3 separate regions of the Homo sapiens genome follow, and all the other regions are linked to region 3. Evidence: promoter capture Hi-C in human tissues and cell types (Jung and others, 2019). All regions are on one chromosome and are shown on one strand. The core of a region is centred on a gene start or on the middle of the fragment in contact, and the rest is flanking DNA. Distances in the headings are between cores, read along the strand shown. Region 1 holds the start of IQCJ-SCHIP1-AS1 (IQCJ-SCHIP1 readthrough antisense RNA 1). Region 2 overlaps IQCJ-SCHIP1 (IQCJ-SCHIP1 readthrough). Region 3 holds the start of IL12A (interleukin 12A).

Region 1 (4,541 bases), core at 570-3,069, 220 kb before region 3:
AGGAGGACGAGCGCGACCAGCGAGGGTACCGGGATGACCGCTCTCCGGCCCGGGAACCGGGGGACGTAAGCGCCAGGACCCGCAGCGGCGGCGGCGGGGGCAGGAGCGCCACCACCGCCATGCCGCCCCCGGTGCCCAACGGCAACCTCCACCAGCACGACCCCCAGGACCTCAGGCACAATGGCAACGTGGTGGTGGCTGGCCGGCCGAGCTGTTCCCGGGGCCCCCGCCGGGCGATCCAAAAGCCCCAGCCGGCTGGGGGCCGGCGCAGTGGCCGCGGCCCGGCGGCTGGGGGGCTCTGCCTTCAGCCCCCAGACGGCGGGACGTGCGTCCCCGAAGAGCCCCCGGTGCCACCTATGGATTGGGAGGCGCTGGAGAAGCATCTGGCCGGGCTGCAGTTCCGGGAGCAGGAGGTACGGAACCAGGGCCAGGCGAGGACCAACTCCACCTCCGTAAGTTGGCCGGGGTGCGTGCCCACGCGCGCACACACGCGTACACACCCCGCGCACAGCCCGCACGCCCCCTCCCTGCGCTCCCGCCCGCCCGCGGCCCCATTCATTCTTCCTCGAGGGTGGGGGCCAGGCCAGAGAGCCTGCCGTCTGCTCCCCTGGGGATAAGGTTGCTCGGTCTGTGAGCTGTCTGGGTTTGCAGGATGGGCGGAGAGGAAGGAGGAGCAGCCAGAGGGCAGCGGAAAGTCGGGTTAGTGGAACCGGCGACTCATTTTAATGGAATTACTTATGGAGACCAGGTTGTGAGTCACTTGCCTGAAAATAAATCCGGGGAGATTCTGGCACCAAAAGTCAGTGCCTGCGGGGGATATTTCAAATCGTAATAGTTGTGGCTTTGTCAATCGTGGTGGCTCTCCTCTCGTTGCCACTAATGTCTCATCCATATATAGGCTTGTTCCTATGCACACGCACACATTCGCCTGCCCACACCACCGGTCTGGCAGCGGGGTTCGTTCCGTCTTGTGTTAAGCAGATGCTCCTGTATTTGAATGGGTTGATTTTCCTCCTCTAAGACTTTCTTCCTTTATGAAACCCGAGTTATTGTTGACCTGGGGGAACGGGGTAAATGGACCTGTCAGGATAAGGGAGGGGTTCTTCCCTCGGTCGCCTGACTCACTCCCTCTGCTGTGAATCCCTCCTTGTTTTGATAACGGAGCCACTTACAGTTTCTTCCCGGAGGCTACTGCCTCAATTCAGGAAAGCCAGACAGGGAGGGGTGCTGGAGTGGAAAAGAGGGAGGGAGGAGAGGAGGGCTGCATCTATAATAAGAAGCACTGGCAGGTTCACACTTGTCTCAACATCTTTTTTGCCCCTGAGAGAAGAGCAGATAAATGACTTAAAAGAAAACCATCATGAAGGTAGCTCCCCTGTTTAGCACTGCTTTGAGATAAAGCAACAGTTGTAATTTGAAATCATTAATGATGACCCTAATTAGGGCTGAAGGGCGTAGTTGAAAGGAGCTGCTTTCTGTGTGTGGCAGCTGTGTGGCAGGTGGGAAAATGCTTGCCTTGCGGGTGTAATTTTTGCGACACCAGGACCCCGGGGCTCCTGAAAATTGGGTGCATGCACTTCTGACTTCAGGGGTGAGGATGGTAACTGTGTTTCACAGAGAAATTGCCATGGTTCTATCAGAGAGCGCCCTTGGCTGACAGAGCCTGCTGGTTAGTTTCCCTTGGGAAACTACTTAATAAATTAGCATACTCATTTTAATTCCAGCTGTTTAGGAGTTTACCATGGCCATTAACAGACGTGGAATCTTTCCATTACAGTCAATACTATCTCTTATACCTTGCAATAGAAAATATCCTTTTCCCACTTTGTGCTTGAGAAAAATACCTCATTAATACCTGGGCTTGAACAATGAGTGGGAAATAAGCAGGAGGTTAGTTTGCTATTGCGTGACATTTATACATTCCAGGAAAATTTAGTACTTGGGTATACATGCAAAGTTAGGGTTTGATGGTGACAATGAGCTCCATTATTCAAAAGTTGTGGAACAAATTGTTTTTGAGCACCCATGTATGTGCTGTGTGCCAGGGATGGTTCTGAGTGCTGTAGTTACACATCAGTCCACATGGGGCTGAAATTCTGGTGAGGGAAGGGTAGGGATACAGACTGCCTTCCCTCCAGGAACTTAAAATTTGATGGCTTACCTAGCACCACCTCATACCCCCACCCCCAACGCATCTTCTGGTTATTGTGAAGACTATGAATCTTTCCTTCTTGGGCAGTCTTTGAAACCAATGGTGTATCCTCACCTAGTGAACAGTTTGCATATTTGCATATTTGGGTTTCTTTCCTTCACTTCCAGCTTTCCTGGAAATGCCCCTTCTGGTCATTTCCTCTACAAGTTACACAGAGAAATTTAGATTTCATTGTGTCAAAGCAAGGATGTATACAGAAAAAAGGGAGAAGGAGGTAGCATTTGAGGTTAATGGTGGATTTTTTCATGTTTTGGTTTGTGTTTGAACAAAATTACTAGTCAGTGTTGGTTTAGAATACTGTTTTTCAAACAGTAAGTTTCCCATGAAATCACCTTAGCATTTAAAAAAATGAAATAAAATAGAATGTATGATAGTGTATTGCAGGGAGTCATAGTAAAGTTGGTAATTTTTAAAACTTTAGTTTTATATGTATGGTGGGTTGCAACATAAAGTTTACTTCTCACTATGGGTCGCTGTTATAAAAGATTGAAAAGCACTGATTTAAATCCTGTTTAGTGCTGCCTGGAGTACGTAAGGGAATTTATGACCATGAGGACAGAAACCGGAGAAGAACAAAGGAGCCGTGTGGAAGAGAAGGCCTGCCTTGAAGGAACTGTTCAAATCCAATGATATTTTACTCCTCTTTAAAATGTCTTGTATGAATATATTTAAGTGGCATTAATACACACCACTAGGAATGGGGTATACAATGAAAAGGGGATAGCTTCTCTTCACCAAGTAAGCCTATTCCTACTTCAGGGCTTTTGCCCTTCTGTAACCTCTGCTTGGAAGCAAGTGTCTGGTTCCTTCTCATCATTCCAGACTCAGTTCAACTCTCACCAGCTCAGAGAAGCTGTCCCCCACCACCCTTCCTAAAGTAAAGTAACAGCACTGCACCCCAACTCCAGCACTCCTGGTGTATTGTTTTCTTAGTGCTTGTCACTATCTGACATTATCTTATTTAGTCCTCTATTTTTGGTCCCTCTGAAATGTAGGCGGGAGTTCTTGCCTGTTTTTTAACTCTATAACCTATTGCCTGGAACATGCCTGGGATGGAGTAGGTTCTCAAATATTGAATGAATGAATGAATGAATGTTTATGACAACAACACAACCCATACCTAATCCAACTCCCATTTTACAGTTGAGAAAATTGAAGCCCAGAGAGGTTAAGTGATTTGCCTCAGACCCAGTGAGAAACTTATGAACAGGGTTTTGTTCTTTCTTGTGACACCAGACTAGTTCCCCGCCCCCTTTTTTAATGCTTAAAATAATTTGAAATAAAAGGAAAGGAAGGAGCTCCCACCTCCCTGAAACTTAAAGGGTTTCCTATTGACAAGTCTCTTATTGCACTTCCTTAGAATTAAGGACATAAGTAAACTGGGAAATCATCAAAACCCCCTTACTTATGAGTCTTCTTTTGTAGACAGGGTTTTGTATTGTTTTGTTTCAATGACATACTATTGGGTTCTGCAGAGCAGGGTAGTGACAGAATCCATGTCTCCTCACTCCACATCCAGTGCTCTTTCCTTCCTCTTAGTTGTGGTGATGCACGCAGAAGGATGACTGAGGTCTCAAAAATGGGATGACAATCAGCTATCCCTAATTCAGATAAGATTGAGAGGCAAATTTAAAAATGCACAATGTTTAGGTGGGATTTAAAACCTAGCACTGACCTTCACTTTGCGATGGGTTTAGAAAACTAATCTCTCTCTTGGTATCTGTGGAGGATGATGAGCTTGGATGCTGTCAGGAACTATCTTTGGTGTCACAGCATGGAAGGGCCTGGGGAGTCCTGATGGAAACACTCTAGTGACTGGATCCTTGCTCCATCTCAGAGCTGGGGGCTCAAGACAGACCTCCAGCACCTGGTCCAGCCCTCCACTGTGATGTCATCACCTGGGACAGCCATATCCCCAGTAGTTCGCATTGTGCCTGGCACAAATAAATGCTTGAAACATGCAGAGAGGGTGAGGGGCTCTACCCAAAAACCAGAACTACTCCCAGAAGTGCCCCTTCCATGGGCAGCCCCTGCTCATCTGGTGTCAGTGTGCTTCTCACAGTCCTGCCCTGGGCTTGTATTCCGTCTTGTGCGTGAACACTCTTAATAAATTCAAGGGCCATAGATGGAGTAAAGAAAGGTTCTGGGGTTGGTGCCTTTGATGTCAGATTAGGAGTCCTGCTTGCAGAAGTTCATGTTTCTCTTAAATTCTTATCTTCTTGCCTACTCTAACTCTGGTGCACAGGACTGGACAGTTTTCCCTCTTATGAGAGCGGGCCACAAACAGTCGGCTTTCTCTCTTCTGCTTCTCCAGGACCTTAGTGCATCA
Region 2 (4,367 bases), core at 1,511-4,010, 140 kb before region 3:
TGCATGGACAGTTCATTCTAGAGAGGGCAGCAGCAGAGGAGGTACCAGAGACAATCCCCATAGAAGGATAGGAGTGGCTGTCTCCCCATTTGCAAGCTACTGGCAAACCATCAGGCATTACATTCAGCTCAAGTCTCTGCCAAGGTGGTGTTTTATTTTGTGTTTTCCATTCCTGTATTCATTTGGACCACATGGAAGTGAAATTAATTACAGTGTTAATCCCAAGCATGTAGTCAAGGTCTTGCCACCCTGCCTGGAAATGTGGTTTGAAATAGAGGGATAATGGCTGATAATGATTTTTTTTTTCAAGTTCTAGAGCAACCCTTCTACACTTTAAGGTATATTCAAAAATCCTAGGGGTCTCTCTTTTTTTTTAATGCAATTTCTGATTCAGTGGTTCTGGAGTGGGACTGGAGGGCTTACATTTCTAGAAAGCTCCCAGTGCTGTTGATAATCTGCTTGGAGAACACACTTTGAGTAGCAAAACTCTAGAAAGTTTCACAGATAAGTGATGCCACACATAATAGGAAACTCTCAGATATTTTAAGCTGGCACAAGCTATCCTGAAAACGGTGGCACAGCTCCATCTGGAAAGGGTTTGGGCTATGAGCTTATCTACGTGCTGAGCTTCTTTAGGGAGGGTGCACAGTGATGTCACCACCACTGAGAACTGCCCTCAACTGCTTGCATTCATGTTTCAGGAGCAGATGTTCTATCACTTGTCTCTGTATAGTGCTTATTAGAGAACACTTACGACAAAAAAGGAGCTAGCAGGTAGAGGAGTGGAATGGTCTTTTAGTATTCTCAGTACTATTCCTTGTTGCTGTTGTTTTGTTGGGAAATTTCCATCTCGAATTTTGAGGTGCCTCTCTCCAAAAGATAATATATTATCAATGTATGTGTATATACATGTGTATGTATATCATTACTATATTACTAGTACACATATATTAATCTGTATGTATATATACATAATCATGAGAGTTCAGTTTTTCTCATTTTAATTGTATATTTAAGCCCACTCTGTTAAAATTAAAGTAAAAAGATACTAGTAATCAGGCATATCATTTTATGTATCTTACGGAGTCTTGCAGTCTCTAAATTATTATAATTTCATCCATGTTAGCTATCGATTATAGGTTTCTAAGTGGACTACGACATTAACCCAGATAAGAATGAAATTCATATTGTAGCTGAACCCCAAGTGCAGTGGACTGAGGTCTGGAAATCAGTACAGTCATGGAGCCAGGAGCAGAATACTGCTTTGCTGCTACTGTGAAAGAGCCATTTGTATGGTCTTTAGAGCTTTTCAAGCTGTAGTCTGCAGAGTGAGTGGGGTCTGCAGGGTCCTAGGGCTTCCTTTCCACAGAGCTTTCCTGAGAGGCTGTGCTGGGGCTGGGATAATAGGAGAATAGAGCATCCAGGTGGGGTGTGGTAGCCCTCCTCATTCAATCAAAGCAGACCCTTTTTTCCTTTTGAACATATGTGAGTTCCACAGAAGATTTCAGTTGAAAAGCACTATTAATGTTTCCTACTGTGGACAGCATTTAGAGGAAACATTTTAAGCAGCACGTTCATATTTCCTCTGTTCACGTACTTAGTCAACAGCTCTTCATTGTGCGCTTATCGTGTGCAAGGCAGTGTTCTACATGCTATGGGGTAAACAAGATGACAAATCCCTGTCCCCTTAGAAAAGAGCTTGCAACCACAGTGGCTGTTGGAAAGAAGCAACAGTGGTGCTAAAAGACACCAGGTAAACTGGAAAGGAAAATTCATCATATAGCGTACTAGGTTCTGACATCAGTGAAGTAGCTTCCATTTCATTTCTTGAGGCTTCATCAGAAGAGATATGCGACAATACGTGCTGGGTGTTCCAGATGTATGATCTGGAAAATGTTGATTCAGCTCTTGATATTGTTATACAGGGAGCTGTATTAGTCCATTGTTACACTGCTATATAGAAATACCTGGCCAGGCATGGTGGCTTACACCTGTAATCCCAGCATTTTGGGAGGCCAAGGCGGGTGGATCACCTGAGGTCAGGAGTTCGAGACCATCCTAGCCAACATGGTGAAGCCCCGTTTCTACTAAAAATACGAAAATTAGCTGGGCGTGGTGGCGGGCACCTGTAATCTCAGCTACTTGAGAGGCTGAAATCGAAGAATCACTTGAACCTGGGAGGCAGATGTTGCAGTGAGCCAAGATTGTGCCACTGCACTCCAGGCTGGAGATTCCATCTCAAAAAAAAAAAAAAAAAAAAAAAAGGAAATACGTGAGACTGGGTAATTTATAAATAAAAGAGGTTTAATTGGCTCATGGTTCTGCTGGCAGTACAGGAAGCATGGTGGGGGAGGCCTCAGGAAACTTACAATTACGACAGAAGGCAAAGGGGAAGCAGGCACATCTTCACGTGGCCAGAGCAGGAGGAAGGGAAAGAGTGGGGAGGTGCTACACGCTTTTAAACAACCAGATCTCATGAGAACTCTTATCACCAGAGCAGCATTAGGGGGATGGTGCTAAACCATTAGAAACCACCCCCATGGTCCAGTCACCTCACACCAGGCCCTACCTCCAACATTGGTGATTACAATCGAACATGAGATTTTGGTGGGGACACAGATCCAAACCACATATCTGGAGCTCTACTAGATTTGTCTGTGTTGAACTCTAATCTTTAAAAGCTATGCTTGGATGGGCGTGGTGCTTCACATCTATAATCTCAGTACTTTTGGAGGCCAAGATAGGAAGATCACCTGAGCCCAGGAGCTCAAGACCAGCCTGGGCAACATAGTGAGATCCCATCCCTACAAAAAATTTTTTAAATTATCCAGGCATAGTGGTGCACTCCTATAGTCCCTATACTATCTAGTCCCAGCTATTCAGAAAGCTGAGGTGGGAGGATCACTTGAGCCTGGAGGTCAAGGTGGCAGTGAGCCATGATCATGCCATTGCACTCCAGCCTGGGCAACAGAGCAAGAACCTGTCTAAATAAATAAATAAAAGCTATACTTGATTATTTTATTCAGCACAATTATTTCTTACAGAGGCAGCCAGTGTGGGATGGTTAGAGTGTGGGCCACAGAGGCAGAGAGCCCATATTCATCTTCCTTAACCTCACTGAGCTCTTTCATTTTGCTGTAAAACACAATTGATAGTAATATCTACTCCAAAAGATTATTGAGAGGATTAAAGACATATGTAGGAGGAACATATAAAGTGCCTGGCACATAGCAACCCCTCCCTCAATAAAGGGTAGCTGTTAATATATGCCAGGTAAGAAGATGCATGCTTCCTTCATTTTAACTAACCTCCTTTGGCAGGATTTAACATACACAGGGTCCTTCAAACTAGAGCATACTTTAACCCCAAAGTCTTAGCCTTGGTGAATTCTCCTGTATTTTGAGCACCTGCACGGGGCACTGGGAGCAGCAGTCTGTGGCCAGCATTGCCACAGCCCCGGGAAGCATTCTGGGCTGCCTGCATGCAGACAGTGGGACCCCCATCTGGAGTGAGGGTCCTGGGGTTTGAAGGAGAGTAAGACAAGGGAGATCTCTTCCAGGGAAAACCCTGCCCAAATGCAAATGTGGTTCATGAGAGACAACTTGTTATTGTAACATCTGACAAACATGCAATTAATTCTTTTTGGAACTGAGGTGGGGCAATGAGAATGGAGTAAAGGGAAGATTTCACTTTGGTTTGGGGGCTACAGAGGGAAGTATTTGCTTTATAGAAGTAGGGCTATTATAAACTACTTTGAAACACATTTATGCCACAAGTCTTCTACAAATTGAATTTTTAAAAAATGTGGAGAGAAATAAGTAGACACTGAAGGTGAGCATGTCAGCAGCAGTTCAGATGCCAAAAGGTTATCTTGAATAGCCTTTTTGCTTTTAGAACTCTGTTCTTAACAGTATTGTGGTTGCACAAGAATCTATATTGGAAAATTTATTGACTAGTATACTTGCTGCTTTTTATCTAAGCTTGTCAGAGTGTAAGATGGTGTTGCTAAATGAAGGCTTGCCCTTTGAATTCTTTTCTGACCTATTTCTCCTGCAAACAGTAGCTTTATTTTTTGGAAATAAACACTGGGCATAATTTTTAGTTTATGACAGTAGTAAGCTGATTCTGATGAGTGTGTGTTTGTATGTGCACTTCTGCTTGTCTGCTTCTTGCACCAAAACATCCTCCAGCTGTGGGCCTTTTCCCTCTCTTTAGTAAAGCCTGTAAACAAAACCAGAAGCCATGGGAAAAGTGTAAAGAGAGCAGCAGAAAAGAACGTTTGCTTTTGTGAAAAAGCCCGCCACTGCTTGAATTTTAAAGAAAAGTTGATGGATCTTTTTCTGTTGCCTATATTAATAGAACAAAGC
Region 3 (4,551 bases), core at 2,050-4,549:
CTACTGTAACAATTTTACTTTTCACATTTGGTCTTTAATTCACTTCCAAATGGATTCACCTCTGTTGTTTTAGATTGGAGTCCAGTTTTATTTTTCATCATACGCTGAACATTTTCTCTTTTTAAAAAAATTTTTTGTAGGGAGTTTTTGCTCAGACTGGCCTTGAACTACTGACCTCAAGCAATTCTCCTGCCTTGACCTCCCAAAGTGCTGGGATTACAGGTGTGAGCCATTATGCCCAGCCCATTGAGTATTTTCTACTAAATATTGCATGTTTTCCTCATTGATCAGGGAATCATCTGTATTATCTTATACTTAATACCCAAATATACAAATCTATCTATAATTTCTCTACTCTGTTTCAATGGTCCATATGCCTGATCTGTTGCAAAGATCACTACTTTAATTTCTATGGCTTTAAATTATGTCCATATGTGATAGGGTTAGTCCCCCTTTTCATTATTCCCTTAGCATTTTTACTTAAGGCCAGGAACAGCAGCTCACGCCTGTAATCCCAGCACTTTGGGAGGCCAAGGTGGGTGGATCACTTGAGCCCAGGAGTTTGAGACCAGCCTAGGCAACAAAACTAGACTCCGTCTCTACAAAATACAAAAATAAAAATTAGCTGGACATGATGGTGTTGCCTGTGGTCCAAGCTACTCAGGAGGCTGAAGTGGGAGGATCACTTTAGCCCAGGAGGTCAAGGCTGCAGTGAGCTGTGACTGTGCCACCACTACACTCCAGCCTGGGTGATACAGTAAAACCATGTCTCAAAAAAAATTTTTTTAACTTAGTCATAGATTTTATTACATCTGTATTTTAGAGTAGGCTTATTATTAAGTTTCTGAGAAAATTTATTTGTAGCTTGTATTGGAATTACATTGAGCATGTGAATTAACGAAAAGAGGCTTAAGCTTTCTATATAGAGAAACCTTCCACCCAAGGGTATAGAATTATTTAATTAAATCACACTATATTCTTGACTGAACTTTAAAATTTTTCTCCAAACACTATTCTGTAGTTATCCAAGCTCATGTAATAATCATAATAACTCTATACTGTAGGTACTTTTATTATCATCATTTAACAGATGAGGAAACTGAGCCCAGAGAGATAAATAACTCACCTAAGAACACACAGCAAGTAAGTAGCAGAACCTGGATTAACATAGTTTAGTCCATACTCTTAGCCATTATACTGCCTCTGTATCTACAGTCAGTTACTTTATAGTTTGGCTGCTTCTATGCATGTCATCTTGTTTTTATTACATTTTCTGATGGATTGTTGCAGATACAAAGAAAATCGGCTGATTTTTTTTAAGTTGATATGTGTATTGCATGATGTTGTTAAATTCTCTTCTTAGTTCTAATAGTCTATTAATTTTTTTTCTTTTTGTATATCAACTGTAAAAAGTGACAGTTTTACCTTTTCTTTTCCAATGTTTAAAGCTCTCATTTCTTTTTCTTTCCTTATAGCATTGGCCGAGACCTCCACGACAATGCTACACACTGTGAAGTAGTGATTGTGAGCTAAGACTGTCACTTATAGAAAAATCATGTATTCCTAGAAGAAGGTTTTCATTTCATCTTAGCTAGAGGACATGGAGCACTTCAGGAAACTATTTCACAAAAATGTAAATTAGAAACTGTGTCTGGTAGCCAATAATCCATTTTTAACAGTGGCCCTGTGCTCATCTAAGCAACAGAAATTACTTTTGTATAGGAGATGGCCCTTCCAGGGGAGAAACAGCTCAGTTGTGATACACTTGTCTTCATCCTGACTTTAAGTACATTTAACTCCACACTAAACCCTTGTGGCCACAACACAGCTCTGCACCTGTCATTTGCTCTAGACAAACTGCTAAACGCAATTGTTTCTGACAATGGATTACTCTGTATCCCGTGGGGGAATTCTCAGACAGCAGCATTAGAAGGGGCCTTAGAGATCAACCATTTCTCTTATTTTACACACACCTAAAACTCCCTACAGCCGTGCTTCATCAGCTTCGAGCAGATGAGCCACCCAGAAGGCAGCTCCAGTTATTAGGTCCTAGGGCCTGGGTGTAGTCAGGCCCTTTGGAAGCTCCAAGTCAGAGATCAAACACATCCTCCCCACTACCCACGCCTAGGGTGACTAATGCCTGTGGGAAAAACAACTGAACTAAAAAGTCCCACAGGAACCTCAAACCCAGCACATCCAAAATGGAACTTCTCACCATCTCCTCCAAACTCAGTCCTCTTATACAGTAATCCCTGTAAAGCTAGAACAATCTCCATTCCCCATTCTCAGGGCCTTCCTCTCCCGCTCACCTGAGGAGCTACCAAGCCTTGGCCCACAAGCCCTCTGAGAGTCCCTCCTGCCCACCCTGTGTTCTCCATACTGAATAAGGACTTGGCCACACCTTGTCAACTCTTCCCTCTGCTCTACTCCTGACCCCTGGATCCATCCTTCATGCTGTGGCTGAAGGGATCCCCCCATCATGCAAATTCTGCCACATCTCCCGCCTAAAACCCAGGAAGACTCCCCACTACTCTCAGCACAGAAAGTACACTCCTTAGTATGGCATCCCCTGCCCTCATGGCATGGCCCCATCCAGCCCTCCAGCCTCACACCCTGCAAGGACACCTAGACCCCCACCTCCCTCAACCCTTCATGACTGCGCTTCTGATCCCTGTTTCCCCTGGCTAGACCCTGCGTGCCCTCCCGCTGGAAGCGGTCTAATGCCTGCTTGTTTTTAACACTCAGGTTGGGGCCCCTGCCTGCTCCCGGGAGCCTTTGCTGACTCCTGGACCCCGTTGCTCCGGCTGAGCGTGGGCTCTTTCTCTAGGTCTTTCCTCCCAGGACTCTGTGTATTCATCCTATCGTTAAACTGGATTCTCTACAAGAGTAATAATTGCAGAGTCAGCCAGCTCTCATCCCTTTTCAGGTTTCAGAAAAGACCTGTGAACAAAACGCCTTGAGTCTGATTTAGTGTGGCAATGCCCCAAGGGTCCTGTTCTCCCTGGGTGTCCTGCACCTGGTGCAACGTCGGCCTGGCATCTAGTGAGCCATCTAAAGGAACGATGATGAGTGAATGATTTGCCTACCCCTTCCAGTACTAGGCTGGAGGTCGTGGTTAGGGCCCATCCCTACGCAGGACATGCAAAGTGGGAGGCACTCCTCTCTCTACGTCGGCAGGGGGCGCTGCACAGCTGCGGGGCGGGGTAGCTTAGACACGGGGCGTCCGGCTAAGGCCGGGGACCCAGGGTGGTGGGCGGGGTGTCCCGCCCGCCTGTGGACCCCGCGCAGTAACTGCGAACATTTCGCTTTCATTTTGGGCCGAGCTGGAGGCGGCGGGGCCGTCCCGGAACGGCTGCGGCCGGGCACCCCGGGAGTTAATCCGAAAGCGCCGCAAGCCCCGCGGGCCGGCCGCACCGCACGTGTCACCGAGAAGCTGATGTAGAGAGAGACACAGAAGGAGACAGAAAGCAAGAGACCAGAGTCCCGGGAAAGTCCTGCCGCGCCTCGGGACAATTATAAAAATGTGGCCCCCTGGGTCAGCCTCCCAGCCACCGCCCTCACCTGCCGCGGCCACAGGTCTGCATCCAGCGGCTCGCCCTGTGTCCCTGCAGTGCCGGCTCAGCATGTGTCCAGCGCGCAGTGAGTACTCAGCCCGCCAGGTCTTTGGCTCGCTCGGGTGCGGAGGGGCGGCTGCTTGGGAAGAGTGGGTAGAAACTCAAGTCTGCCTAAGGAGAGACTGGAACAGCAGCAGCCGTCTCCTGCAAAGAGGAATAAGAATAGGGGTCTCACCGTGTGCTAAATAGGGCATGTCTCTTTTCATCTCGAAACAGCCTGATGAGCTATCATTATGCCCACTTCGTAGAGGAGAAACTGAGGCCCAGCGTGGGAGATTTCCTGCTTTCCTGCCTAGGGTCCCTCAGCTACAAACAGAAGGCAGATCCTAGCCAGTTCTAAAGTCAGGCTTGGCCGGGTGCAATGGCTCACGCCTGTAATCCCAGCACTTTGGGAGGCCAAGGCGGACAGATCTCCTGAGGTCAGGAGTTCAAGACCAGCCTGACCAACATGGTGAAACCCCGTCTCTACTAACAAATACACAAATTAGCCGAGTGTGGTGGTGGGTGCCTGTAATCCCATCTACTCGGGAGTCTAAGGCAGGGAAAATTGCTTGAACTCGGAGGTGGAGGTTGCAGTGAGCCAAAATCGTGCCACTGCACTCCAGTCTGGGCCACAGAGTGAGACTCCGTCTTAAAAAAACAAAAAAAGTCAGGCTTTCTCACTCCACTGTTTTTAAAACACTGGGTCCCAAGTCTGACTCAGCCACTTCACCACCTGGTCTGGGTTTCCCTGATCAAAAACATGTAGGCTTTCTCTGGGTGAGTGTTGGGTTCAACACCCTTGTCCAAGCTCATCTCTAGACCCTCACAGGGAGCTGGCTTCTAGCCCTAGAATAGAGTGGCGCTTTGTAATAACTCGAGTCATCTCTCAGGTGTTGAAGGAAAAGTGTTGGAAATGGGTTGAGGGAGGTGGGTGCCAAGCATGAATGGATGGGTG

The links. The method cuts DNA at HindIII sites, captures the fragments that hold promoters and counts their contacts. A contact is called where the count stands out against the background at its distance.
Region 1: a contact is called between a fragment that was not itself captured here and the fragment with the promoter of IL12A in region 3, in 1 of the 25 tissues and cell types used here (heart right ventricle).
Region 2: a fragment that was not itself captured here is called in contact with the fragment with the promoter of IL12A in region 3 in 1 of the 25 tissues and cell types used here (hippocampus).

What each region holds. Positions count from the first base shown.
Region 1 is chr3:159,764,687-159,769,227 of GRCh38, forward strand. The region is part of intron 4 of IQCJ-SCHIP1 (IQCJ-SCHIP1 readthrough); the gene reads left to right. It overlaps SCHIP1 (schwannomin interacting protein 1), which reads left to right. Exons shown (of 8, transcript NM_014575.4): 2 at 1-452. IQCJ-SCHIP1-AS1 (IQCJ-SCHIP1 readthrough antisense RNA 1) reads right to left here and starts at 3,926. Exons shown (of 3, transcript NR_121669.1): 1 at 3,888-3,926; 2 at 3,618-3,813; 3 at 696-1,057. The HindIII fragment of the contact is 9,433 bases long and covers 1-4,541 here.
Region 2 is chr3:159,848,303-159,852,669 of GRCh38, forward strand. All of the region lies in intron 4 of IQCJ-SCHIP1 (IQCJ-SCHIP1 readthrough), which reads left to right. All of the region lies in intron 2 of SCHIP1 (schwannomin interacting protein 1), which reads left to right. All of the region lies in intron 2 of LOC124906299 (a long non-coding RNA gene), which reads right to left. Among named protein-coding and RNA genes, the nearest start is that of IQCJ-SCHIP1-AS1, 82 kb to the left of the region's middle. The HindIII fragment of the contact is 4,469 bases long and covers 527-4,367 here.
Region 3 is chr3:159,985,536-159,990,086 of GRCh38, forward strand. IL12A (interleukin 12A) reads left to right here and starts at 3,300. Exons shown (of 7, transcript NM_001397992.1): 1 at 3,300-3,639. The coding sequence starts at 3,624. IL12A-AS1 (IL12A antisense RNA 1) reads right to left here. Exons shown (of 10, transcript NR_108088.1): 9 at 3,562-3,758. RefSeq lists enhancers at 959-2,158, 3,010-3,510, 3,511-4,011, 3,511-3,560 and silencers at 3,071-3,270, 3,341-3,390. The HindIII fragment of the contact is 7,471 bases long and covers 1-4,551 here.